Regions from separate parts of the Homo sapiens genome. Here region 1 is linked to region 2. The links are contacts of gene promoters, found by promoter capture Hi-C in blood cells and fetal thymus (Javierre and others, 2016). All regions are on one chromosome and are shown on one strand. Each heading gives the region's core, a stretch centred on a gene start or on the middle of the fragment in contact. The rest is flanking DNA. Distances are from core to core; before and after follow the strand shown. Region 1 overlaps CEP290 (centrosomal protein 290). Region 2 holds the start of GALNT4 (polypeptide N-acetylgalactosaminyltransferase 4).

Region 1 (4,718 bases), core at 1,601-4,100, 1.4 Mb before region 2:
AAAATACTCTTTGGGAAAATGATAACGTTAAACATCACTCATTGATACATTATCCACAAGATGTCTCTTGCCTAGGACTTTCTAATGCTGGAGAGGATAGGACAGAGGACATGGAGAATGGAAAAAAATAAATTATCACCACACTAAATAGGCATAATTTTCTATAAAAAGTAACATAATCACCTCTCTTTGGCAAAAGCAGCAGAAAGCAAACTGATTATGATTACTTCTAAATAATATTGATAAACATGACTCATAATTTAGTAGGAATCCTGAAAGCTACTCAGAACAACGTTTTCATTTACTGAATGTGTCTCTATGAGCCAGCAAAAGCTTTTGAGCTAATAGAATTAGATCTTATTCTACTCCTGTGAAAGGATCTTAGATAAGAATAATCCAAAATCCATAAGCCTCTATTTCTGATGAGGAAGATGAACAAATCAGGAGCTTGTTCTGTCCTCAGTAAAAGGTATAGAGTTCAAGTGGCTGTAAGATAACTACAAAGGGTCTGGTCCATATTCACAGATTGTAACTTATGATATTCTACTCTAGTTTTTTTATTTTTTATTCTACATTAAATAAATTTATTCTACATTAAAATTCTACATTTATTCTACAATAAAAAATGATGAGAATTTACAGAGTGCATCCATGGTCCAGGAAGAGCCCTTAATATTTCAGCTACTGTTGGCTACATCCATTCCAAGGAACAAAAGCCAGGGACCATGGGAGAATAGTTTGTTCTGGGTACAGGGGTAAGAGAAAGGGATGGGCACTTAATGAGTGCTTCCCTCCTTTGATTACAATATTCTACCTGTTTCATGCTCCTTTTTCTCTTAGATGTCTGGTTAAAAGAGGTTTGATTCAGCTAAATCATGCAAGTGACCTAAGGAGAATGATCTAGATAATCATTCAGAAGTCATTCAGCCACTATAAATAGATAATATATTGTGTGTGTGTGTGTGTGTTATGTGGGAACAAAATATTTATAACTAAACTGAATGAATAATATGGATAATTATATCTCTGTTAAATTTATATAAATGCAGGCAAACTTTAATTAAAATCTGCCAAATCCCCCCAAACACAAAAATATTGAAGAAAAATGGCTAATTTCACAAGGTTCAAGAATCACACAAACTTACCTCCAGGTGTTCCAAGTTACTTGTTCTTTGAACAAGCATATTATCTTTTTGCAAGATGTCCCTGTACTTAGCAGTCAGTTCATTGTACTGTTTATTAGCCAGTTCTAGTTCAGACAAAGAAACACTATTATCTACAACTTTTTGGAGAGCTGCAATCTTGAAAATGGCCATTTCCTATGTAAATAAAGATACACTGAGTTATGCTGGTGTCTTTTTTTCTGGTCAAGCACTAGCCACTTTTGAGAAAGATAATACAACTTAAAGTAAAACGAATTTTAAAATCATTTTTAAAATATATGATTTCCCATGTAAGAAAAACATGCATTAACATAATTTCTTTCATATAAGAAATGTTACTTTGAAAATCTTAATCATAATAAAAATAAAATACTTTAATAACTCCTGTCATTGTAAAATAAAACTCAATTAATTTGAGAAAACATAACAAACAGCAGGAATATATCACTCGGAATTTATCTTTGGATGGCTTTTCTAAATTTCTTATGATCGGAAAACAACTTGCCTTTTAATAAATGGGAAAATTAGCATTATCACAGGTAACTTTCACAGCTTAGCTATTTATGCTTATTGTAAGTTAAACGGACTAGCTTTAATAACAAGAAAACTTTTTGTACACATGATGGAAACATTAGCGGGAGAGCTTCTATTATAGTTCTCTGTAATAAATAACATCAAGGACTTTAAGTTACTTGGTTCATGGTTCTACTCATCAACTATAGAACTATTCAAAGATATTCTATTATCAACACCAAAATGAAATGTCCAAACTTACAGTTCTCTTAAGTTGCTGTATAATAGGCAAACATTACATAGAAAAGTACAATAAAGAATGATGAAAGCTGAGAAGTGGTATAAGGAATAATCAAATTTATGAATGAGGAAGTAAAAAAACTTACGGTTGTAATTCATTCTGAAGTACAGTAACGATGGAAATATTTGTAATAGCGCTTCAGATCTCATTTTGGCAGCCTTTCTTCTCCATCTAAGTTAAGTACACACTATTCTATCTTACCCTTAAGATTCAGTTTCACTGTTCTGGGGGAAACAGGGGTAGATGAGATTCTATTTCCCATCTCTTAAGAATCTCCCTTTTTCTTGGCTCTTCAATTGTTGGGAGAAAAAAATCAAGTTCATGAGCAGGTAGAAGAGGAAGAAAACTAATTCTTTTCTCTTTCTATCTCAAACACTAACTGTATTTATAAAACTCTAACAAAAGTAGATTCTAAAAAAATCTAACACAAAAATAAGACATGAACATTTCCTTATTACATGTCTGAATAAATATCACTTATATTTATTAAAGAATTTCTTGATGCTCAGTATTAAGCTTTAGATCAAGCTGAAAATAGGTTTATTAGCCTGACATCACCCATTACAACCTTTAAAGTGGAAAGTAAAGAACCCAAGCCCATTTTAATTTCACTTTGAATTCTGTGTTCCTATGATCCTGTCCAAATTTAGTCATGAACATTGAACATTTACATGCTTAAAAATAAACTACAAGGTAAGGTATAAAACTAGGTGCAGAAGGGTATACATGTCATGTAACCTGTCTTGTCTTTGTTTATGTTTCCAAAAAGGAAACATGAGAAAGATAATAAGTTACCTACAGAGGGTGGAGCAGAATAATATGAAAGGCGTAAGACCAGAATTAAGATTTCTCTGATTAAATATTTTGCATATATAAATATTGTATATATTAAAATTCAATAAAGGAAAAAAATCCCTAAAATAAAAAAAATGAAAAACAAATGAGCCTAACTATATATCAAATGTATAACATAACCGCATGAAGACAATTATTTCAAGTAAGTGTAGAATACTTTGCCTATACATTCTCAGCAAGATATATTCTGAAGAAAATAAGACCTGAAATAAAACTTTAAACTATGTTTGGCAGCAGTGCTGTTGTTGTTACTATTAATATCAATTCAAGTATTATTTTTCAAATTATTGTATGTATATTGTAGGATAAAACAAATATTTTAATGTTAATAATAAAGGTTTTCTATGTAAGAAAAAAATACAAGTGCAAAATCAAAGAAGCTTAGTAAAAATCCGATACTATTTACTTACCCCATAATGTTATAATTAAACTGGAAATAACAATATGAACTCATGGTTTAAATATATACATATTTTTCTAACTTGTCTACTGAGAGACTAGTGGCAATGATACTCTGAGAGCAATGATGCCCAGTGGCCAGTTTTTGGTATCTAAATGCCTTCCCCACTAAAAGGAACCTGGGCTCTTTAAAGAAATGGTTTATTCCAAGTATGGGCATGAAGTATGTAGGTAAGTCTAAGACATCTTATGCTAGAAAACAAGTCAAGCTTTGAGGCTTCGTTCAAAAGACTAATGAATTTTTGTCAAGACAATATAAGAGTCAACTTTAAAGGACTCTCTTTGGCTAAAGTTGAGACAAAAGAATATGACTCCAACTAAAACACATGGAATATTTAAAAATCTGTGAGTCTAATCTGATACTTAAAAAAGAGAAAGCGGAGGGGACAAAAAAAGCAGGTAGTGCAGAGTACACCAAGTGTGTATTCTGAAAACTGGTAATTAAAGAGAAAAGCATTTATCTTGCCTTTGTAGTAGGAGCTAAACTTCAAGATAAACAAATAGCCTGGGCTAATGAGGAAACGCTATTTATTTTACAAAAGCATGTCTGTTAATAAATGTAAGTGCATAATATAACTAGAAAATTATGATGTTTGCAACTTTTAATAATTGGGTTAGGCAACAATCATCAGCAGATGCTAAAATCATTAGGACTGACAAATAATTTGTTATTTGTATGGTACCAAAATATCACCAGTTAGCTAAATTGCTTAATAATGGAGGTATATGGTTATCTTTTCTTCTTCTTCTTCTTCTTTTTTTCTTTTAAGAGAGAGACTCGCTCTGTTATACAGGCACATAGGCTGGAGATCAGTGGCACATGATCACAGCTCACTGCAGCCCCCAACTTCCTGGGCTCAAGCGATCCTCCCACCTCAATGTCCCAGGTAGCTGGGATTACAAGCATGTGCCACTACACCAAGCTAATTAAAAACAAACAAACAAAAAAAAAAACATTTTTTGTAGAGACGGAGTCTCACTATATTGCCTAGGCTGGTCTGGGCTCAGGAAATTTTCCTGCCTGGGCCTTCCAAAATGTTGGAATTATAGGCATGAGCCACCATACTTGGTCTGCTTGTCTTTTCCTTAACAGAGTAATCAATTACAAAACATGGAACAACCAGATACTCTTGAAGTGATGCAATATAAAGTATAGAACACTACTTATGAAGTATTCTTGCCAAAAATGTTTAAACCTGAATGTAACTTAGGGTTCTGACCTAACTTTTAGTAATACAAGGGACACAGGAACAAGTAAAATGACACACACACAAAAGTTAGATACATCTTCAAACATTTTTTGGAGAAAAAGAAAACCAAGGGGATTCTATATTAAAAAGATTTATGAGATGTAACATCCAAATGCTTATTCTTTGATCAAAAAATGTAAAAAATGTGACTATAATCAGGGTATTAGGCGATATTAG
Region 2 (5,942 bases), core at 1-2,500:
CCCCACACTTCCATTCCTGTGTCATACGTTCCAAGGTACTGAAAATATTTCTTGCTGACAGCAAACAGTCCTCCAGCCATGGTAGGTGATCTGATGGGGTCAATTCTTGATATCCGCCTGTCCCTTTCCTGTTTGGGGACAGAATGCCACTGAAATGTTAAACGCCAGTCAAACCCACCAATCATGGGCTCCCCTATCTGCATATAGAATTCAAAAGTATTCCAATCAATTGTGTCTATAACAGGACACACAACTGCTGTTTCATCTCTCCCAATCCTTTCCAAAAGCGGTTCCAGCCAACCGGAATTACACTCACAGTGACAATCCAGGAAAGTGAGGACGTCCCCAGTGGCGAAAGTGGCCCCAATCAGACGGGCCCTAACCAGCCCCTCTCGCTTATTGGTCCTAATCAAGCGTACTCTATCAAGATTGCTGATGTAAGTTTCAAGTTGTGTCTTCAAATAAACTCTGTCACTCAAGTCATCCACCAAGATGATCTCTTTCAAAAGAACTGCAGGAGAAGTTTCTAAAACACTGTGAATGGTACGGAGCAAAGTCGACCAGGCTTCGTTATAGAAAGCAATGATAACAGAGGTGGTAGGAAGTGTCCTATAGTTGAACTTCTGGGACTTACACTCATACATTCTTTTATCCTCTATGTGTCGATGCAGGGAAATCCTGTCACTGAGGTAAATATTGATGGCGTATCTCTCAATGAGTTCTTCTTGCTGCTTCAGTTCATCCTCGTTGAGCTGGAGTTTGCTGGCTTTCCCCCACTCCCCAAGTGCACGGGAATCTGCAGGGGGCTTCTTATAAAGCGGTCGAGACAAATCCTCCGTATTTTTCTGGAGGTCTGAGAGCCTTCTTGACCCCAGCTCCCTGGCACGGCCGGCTCCTGCGGAGGCATGAAAAGTAGAGACCAAGAGCTCCACGAAGATATAGGCCACTGTTAAAAACGCCAGCAGCAGGCAGCTCTTGCCTGCCCAAGTCCACCTCACCGCCATCCGGATTCTCAGGGCTGAGGCGCAGACGCGGCCACCAAGCCACCACGCAGGGGAAGGGCGGCGGAACCCACAGCTCGAGCTCAGGTACTTCCCAGCAGGTTCTTCCTTTCATGCAGGCGCTAGGCTCCTTTCCAGCCACCCAGGCTTTCCAGGGGTCACCTGAGCCCTCTCGGTCCTCGGCCTCCGGCACAGCCCAACTCCTCTCTCCCTACTTCCTCCTGCTCGGCTCACAACTTTTCACAAACTCTCCAGCCAACACCCCACCCTCCCCGGGCCGAGGAGAAACCCCTCCCCTTCCCACTCACTCCTCCTGGTGGTTAGTTTGCGAAAGTCGTCCGCCAGGCCCAGACCGCTGGATAGGAGGCTCTTGGCCGGGCCGGGGGCTGGGGGCCGGGATGGCAGAGGGGGCCCTAGCTGCGCCCCGCCGCGCTGGGCCCTCGTCTCCGGGTGCTCTCAACCCTCATACAGGCCCTTAGCCGTTCTCCTAGGGACCCTGCCCGGACAGGAGGAAAGGTTTCCGGCCCATGGAGTTTAGTCTCATTACAAAAGCAAAACAAGAATAAGACTTACCAAGTTGCTTGCCGTTGGGGCTGAGGTCCAAGGAGGTGATCGCAGCTTTGTGGCCTTTGAAATAACGCTCCAGAACGGGGTCCTCCTGGAAAGGAAAGTTGTCAAGTTTTGAAAGCCGCCGCAGACCTCGAATTCTGGCGGCTGGGATCCACGCTGCCACTTCCCCGGAGTCCGGCTTGGGAATGGCCACCCAGGCGGCGGCTTGGCTGGGCGGCGGGGCCGGGCAGCAGCCCACCCACGGGCGCGGCGCCCAGTCCTGCTACAGGGAGACGCCGGCGCCAGCTCTCCCCGCAGAGCCCGCAAAACGCTCTGTTCGCGCTTCCCAGAGTCCAGCGCATCGCAGGAACCGCGGCCCCTTTGAAATGCACGTTCCCGGGCCCCGCCCGCTGGCCCAAGGCAGGCAGGTGCGAGGATGCGCCTCGGCTTTGGTACTTTTTTTTTTTTTAATACTTCCTAGGTGATTCTGACGCAGGCGCTCCACGGAAACCCTCCGAGAATTCTGGGGGCCGTGGGGCCGCCCAGCTCAGTCCGGAGCTCCGGAACTCGGGGAAGAGCGTCCGGGAGCCGGGTCTGGGTTCCGCACTCCGTCCGCCCCGATGGCAGAGAGTGAGATACGGACGCCCCGGGACGAGGGGCTCAGGACCCGGCTACGGACACCTGCCTCCATCTCCCTCCAGGTGCGGCTTCGGCCCGGACCTGGCCCCGCAGCCCGCGGGACAGGCTCCAGGGAGGGACCCCCCCCACCTCCAACCCGTCCTTACCGTGGCTGAGGCCATCGGGGGAGTGGTCGGCCCAAGGCTCCTGTGGGTGGGGGAACCCGGAGAGGGGAGGGGAGAGGATGGGGAAGGAGAGGGGACCGTGCGGCTCCCGGAACCGTCTGCCCAGAGCGGCAGCGCCTCCCGGTCACTACAACAACGGCGGCCCAGTCAAACCCCGCGCTCCAGGCATGGCCAGCCGAGCCCCGAGACACCGCCAGCCCTGTAAAGAGAGGACGGGAGGTATGCGCCGGGTCAGCTGTGGCCACACACCAAGCCATGTTAACTAACACTCGCGTTCTCCCTGGTTTGATGTCAGGAAGTGGGGTAGTAACCAGGACTGGAATAAGAGCGATGAATGGAAGGGCGTTGTGAGCCTGTGATCGATGCGATCAGAGTTCTATTACGTTTTAAAGAGACAGCACCCGTGACGTTTAAGGTGATCCCCTACCGCTTATTTTGTTGACGTAAAGCTTTGACATGAAGAGGGGCAGCTTGCTAGTTATTAATATACTAAAAGGAACTAAATCCCCTGAGGGCAGATTTGAATTTATTTAACCACTGTTTTCCACACAGTGCCCTGCAGGATATTGATATAGTTGCTGGATGTGCGTGATGAATGAATGAGTGAATGAATGAATAAATGTTGTGCATGCACTTAATAATTTTCTGCGATATGTTTCCATTCTCATCTGCTTATTTGCGTATACCTTAGAGCACTAAACTTACACAGCTGGATACTTAAAGTCTTTAGGAAGACTTGGAAACATGGTTTTTTTTGTTTGTTTTTTGTGAGACCACGTTTCTACAGCAGGCTTTGTTACACATAGTATCATTTGTGCTTCAGCCAAACAATGAAGTTGGTAGAATTACAAAATGTTTTCAATGTTTCCAAGTTATAAACTTGATTCCTAGATATTGGTCTTAGAGGTCACACAGAGACAGTTCTTCTAATTCCAAGTCCATATCCTTTTTTTTTTTTTAACCCTGCCTCAAAGCGTGATGTTCTGAGCTGAAAATTACATATAGTGTAAAGATCCTTAGCAACATCAAAGGGCATGATAGAACACAGCTGGTAAGACATGTGTTTTATGCAAATGAAAGGTATGCTACACACCTTAATTACAGATTCCCTAGTTGTCTAGTGATTGAGTTTAATTTTATTGAATATGGTACTTAACAACTAAACAGGTAGGCTTTAGATTACAGTATTAGTTAATTTAAGTATACACTTGTTAAATATCTGTTGTATGTTTGGCCTTGAGGGACACAATGATGACTAAGATATTTCCCCTACCTTCAAGAACTCAGCAATCTAGGGTTGGTGAGTCTCATGCTTTAGCATTTGTAATGTTGATTTGGGGGCTCCATTTCCAGAGATGCTGAATCAACATATACAAGGTGGGATCCAGGGCCCTTCTGATGTAACAAGCTCCATAGATGATTACTATGGGAGTCTCAGCTGTCTATGTTGAGAAACACTGCATTAGTCTAGGAGATGATATGTTAAGAGTGTTGATATCAGCAACTTGTCAGCAAACTGTTGCAGGACTCTTAGTTTTGCTACATATTACCAGTTTAGGCTTGATTTATTTTAAAAGCCTGCCATGTTTAAAACTAATGCTGGATACTGGTGGGAATGTAAAATGATGTAGCTCTGTGAAAAAGTTTGTCAGTTCCTAAAAAGTTAAACATACAATTACCTTATAATCCAGCAATTTCACTGCTAGGTATATCCCATAAGTATTGAAAGCAGAGACTCCAACAGATGCCAGTGTTCAAAGCAAGCATTATTTACAATAGCCAAAAAGTGGATACAATCCTAGTATCCAACAGATGAATGGATAAACAAAATGTATGTGATATATACATATAAGGAAATATTATCCTGCCATAAAAAGAAATGAAATTGTGATACAAGCTATAACATGGATGAACCTTGAAAACATTTTGCTAAGTGAATAAGCCAAACACAAATGAGCATATATTGTATGATTCCATTCATATGAGGTACCTAGAATAGGTGAATTCATAAGGACAGAAAGTAGAATAGAGGTTACTAGGGCTGGGGGTAAGGGAGACTGGGGAGTTACTGTTTAATGGGTGCAGAGTTTCTGTTTGGGATGATGAAGTTCTGGAAATAGATAGTGGTGATGTTTGCACAACATTGTGAATGTACTTAATGCCAGTGAATTGTACACCTAAAAAATGGGTAAAATGGTAAATTTCATTACAGGTATTTCACCCCAATAATAAAATAATAATGCCAGAAGCTGAAGAGTAATCAGGACCTCAGGATTACTCATAGGTATGTTACGTCTAATATTGGGCACAGGAGAAGCAGAAAAGGGAAGAAGTTGGAGATTTAGAAACTAGCTCACAAGAAGAAAAAATATAGATTTTTATTTAAGTGTTTTAGTAAAAGTTTAGCTTTTACTTTTTTTCTCAATTATCAAGAAACACATGTTTTAAATTTAAAAGATGGGAGGGAAACTACATATTAATCCTATTACCTAAAGTTGATCTTAAAAAATTTGTCACCTACTGATATGGTTTGGATTTGTGTCCCCACCCAACTGTCATGTAGAATTGTAATCCCCAGTGTTGGAGGAGGGGGCTGGTGGGAGGTGATTGGATCATGGGGGTGGATTTCTCCCTTGCTGTTCTGAGTGAGTTATCACGAGATCTGGTTGTTTAAAAGTGTGTAGCACTTCCCCCTTTGCTCTCTTCCTCCTGCTCCAGCCATGGAGCAGCCATGCTCTCTTCCCCTTTGCCTTCCACCATGTTTGTAAGTTTCCTGTGGCCTCCCCAGCCATACTTCCTGTACAGCCTGCAGAACCATGAGCCAATTAAACCCGCTTTTTTTGTAAATTACCCAGTCGCAGGTAGTTCTTCATAGCAATGTGAGAACGGACTAATATACCTACCTATGTTTTCACTACATGCCAGGACTTTTCTAAGTACCTTACAAATTTTGACATTTAGTGATCATAACGATCTTATTAGAGATGTGCTATTATTACCATTTCCGTTTTATAGATGAGTAAATTGATATGCAAAGACATTAAGTTACTTGCCCAAGGCACACTGCTAACTAGGAAGTGGCAGAGTTGAGATTTTTAGACACTCGCAGTCTGCCTCCAGAATCCACTCTCTCTTTTTTTTTTTTTTTTTTGAGACGGAGTCTCACTCTGTCGCCCAGACTGGAATGCAGTGGCGCGATCTCGGCTCACTGCAAGCTGCTCCGCCTCCCAGGTTCACGCCATTCCCCTGCCTCAGCCTCCCGAGCAGCTGGGACTACAGGCGCCCGCCACCAAGCCCGGCTAATTTTTTTTGTATTTTTTTTTTAATAGAGACTGGTTTTCACCGTGTTAGCCAGGATGGTCTCAATATCCTAACCTCGTGATCCGCCTGTCTCGGCCTCCCAAAGTGCTGGGATTACAGGTGTGAGCCACCTCACCTGGCCCAGAATCCACTCTCTTAATCACTGTCATGACTTTTGTGTGATTGCAAGTGTTATGTAAATGTATAAAACATTGCATTCTTGCCAAGGTTTATAATAATAAGTTTTACAAAATGAAAGTAATATCTCCTTTATTTTCATTCCACTGTC

The links. The method cuts DNA at HindIII sites, captures the fragments that hold promoters and counts their contacts. A CHiCAGO score of 5 or more calls a contact.
Region 1: a contact is called between a fragment that was not itself captured here and the fragment with the promoter of GALNT4 in region 2, in 6 of 17 cell types (megakaryocytes, M0 macrophages, activated CD4 T cells and 3 more). The highest score is 7.1, in megakaryocytes.

Annotation. Positions count from the first base shown.
Region 1 is chr12:88,101,693-88,106,410 of GRCh38, forward strand. CEP290 (centrosomal protein 290) reads right to left here. Exons shown (of 54, transcript NM_025114.4): 26 at 1,146-1,319. Among named protein-coding and RNA genes, the nearest start is that of CEP290, 38 kb to the right of the region's middle. The HindIII fragment of the contact is 719 bases long and covers 2,492-3,210 here.
Region 2 is chr12:89,523,546-89,529,487 of GRCh38, forward strand. It overlaps GALNT4 (polypeptide N-acetylgalactosaminyltransferase 4), which reads right to left and starts at 1,251. Exons shown (of 1, transcript NM_003774.5): 1 at 1-1,251. The coding sequence starts at 1,004. POC1B-DUSP6 (POC1B-DUSP6 readthrough) reads right to left here and starts at 2,502. Exons shown (of 11, transcript NR_189589.1): 1 at 2,336-2,502; 2 at 1,575-1,659. It overlaps POC1B (POC1 centriolar protein B), which reads right to left and starts at 2,502. Exons shown (of 12, transcript NM_172240.3): 1 at 2,336-2,502; 2 at 1,575-1,659. The coding sequence starts at 2,350. POC1B-GALNT4 (POC1B-GALNT4 readthrough) reads right to left here and starts at 2,717. Exons shown (of 3, transcript NM_001199782.1): 1 at 2,336-2,717; 2 at 1,575-1,659; 3 at 1-128. The coding sequence starts at 2,610. It also overlaps POC1B-AS1. RefSeq lists an enhancer at 968-1,177 and silencers at 1,268-1,647, 2,198-2,457. The HindIII fragment of the contact is 3,011 bases long and covers 1-2,800 here.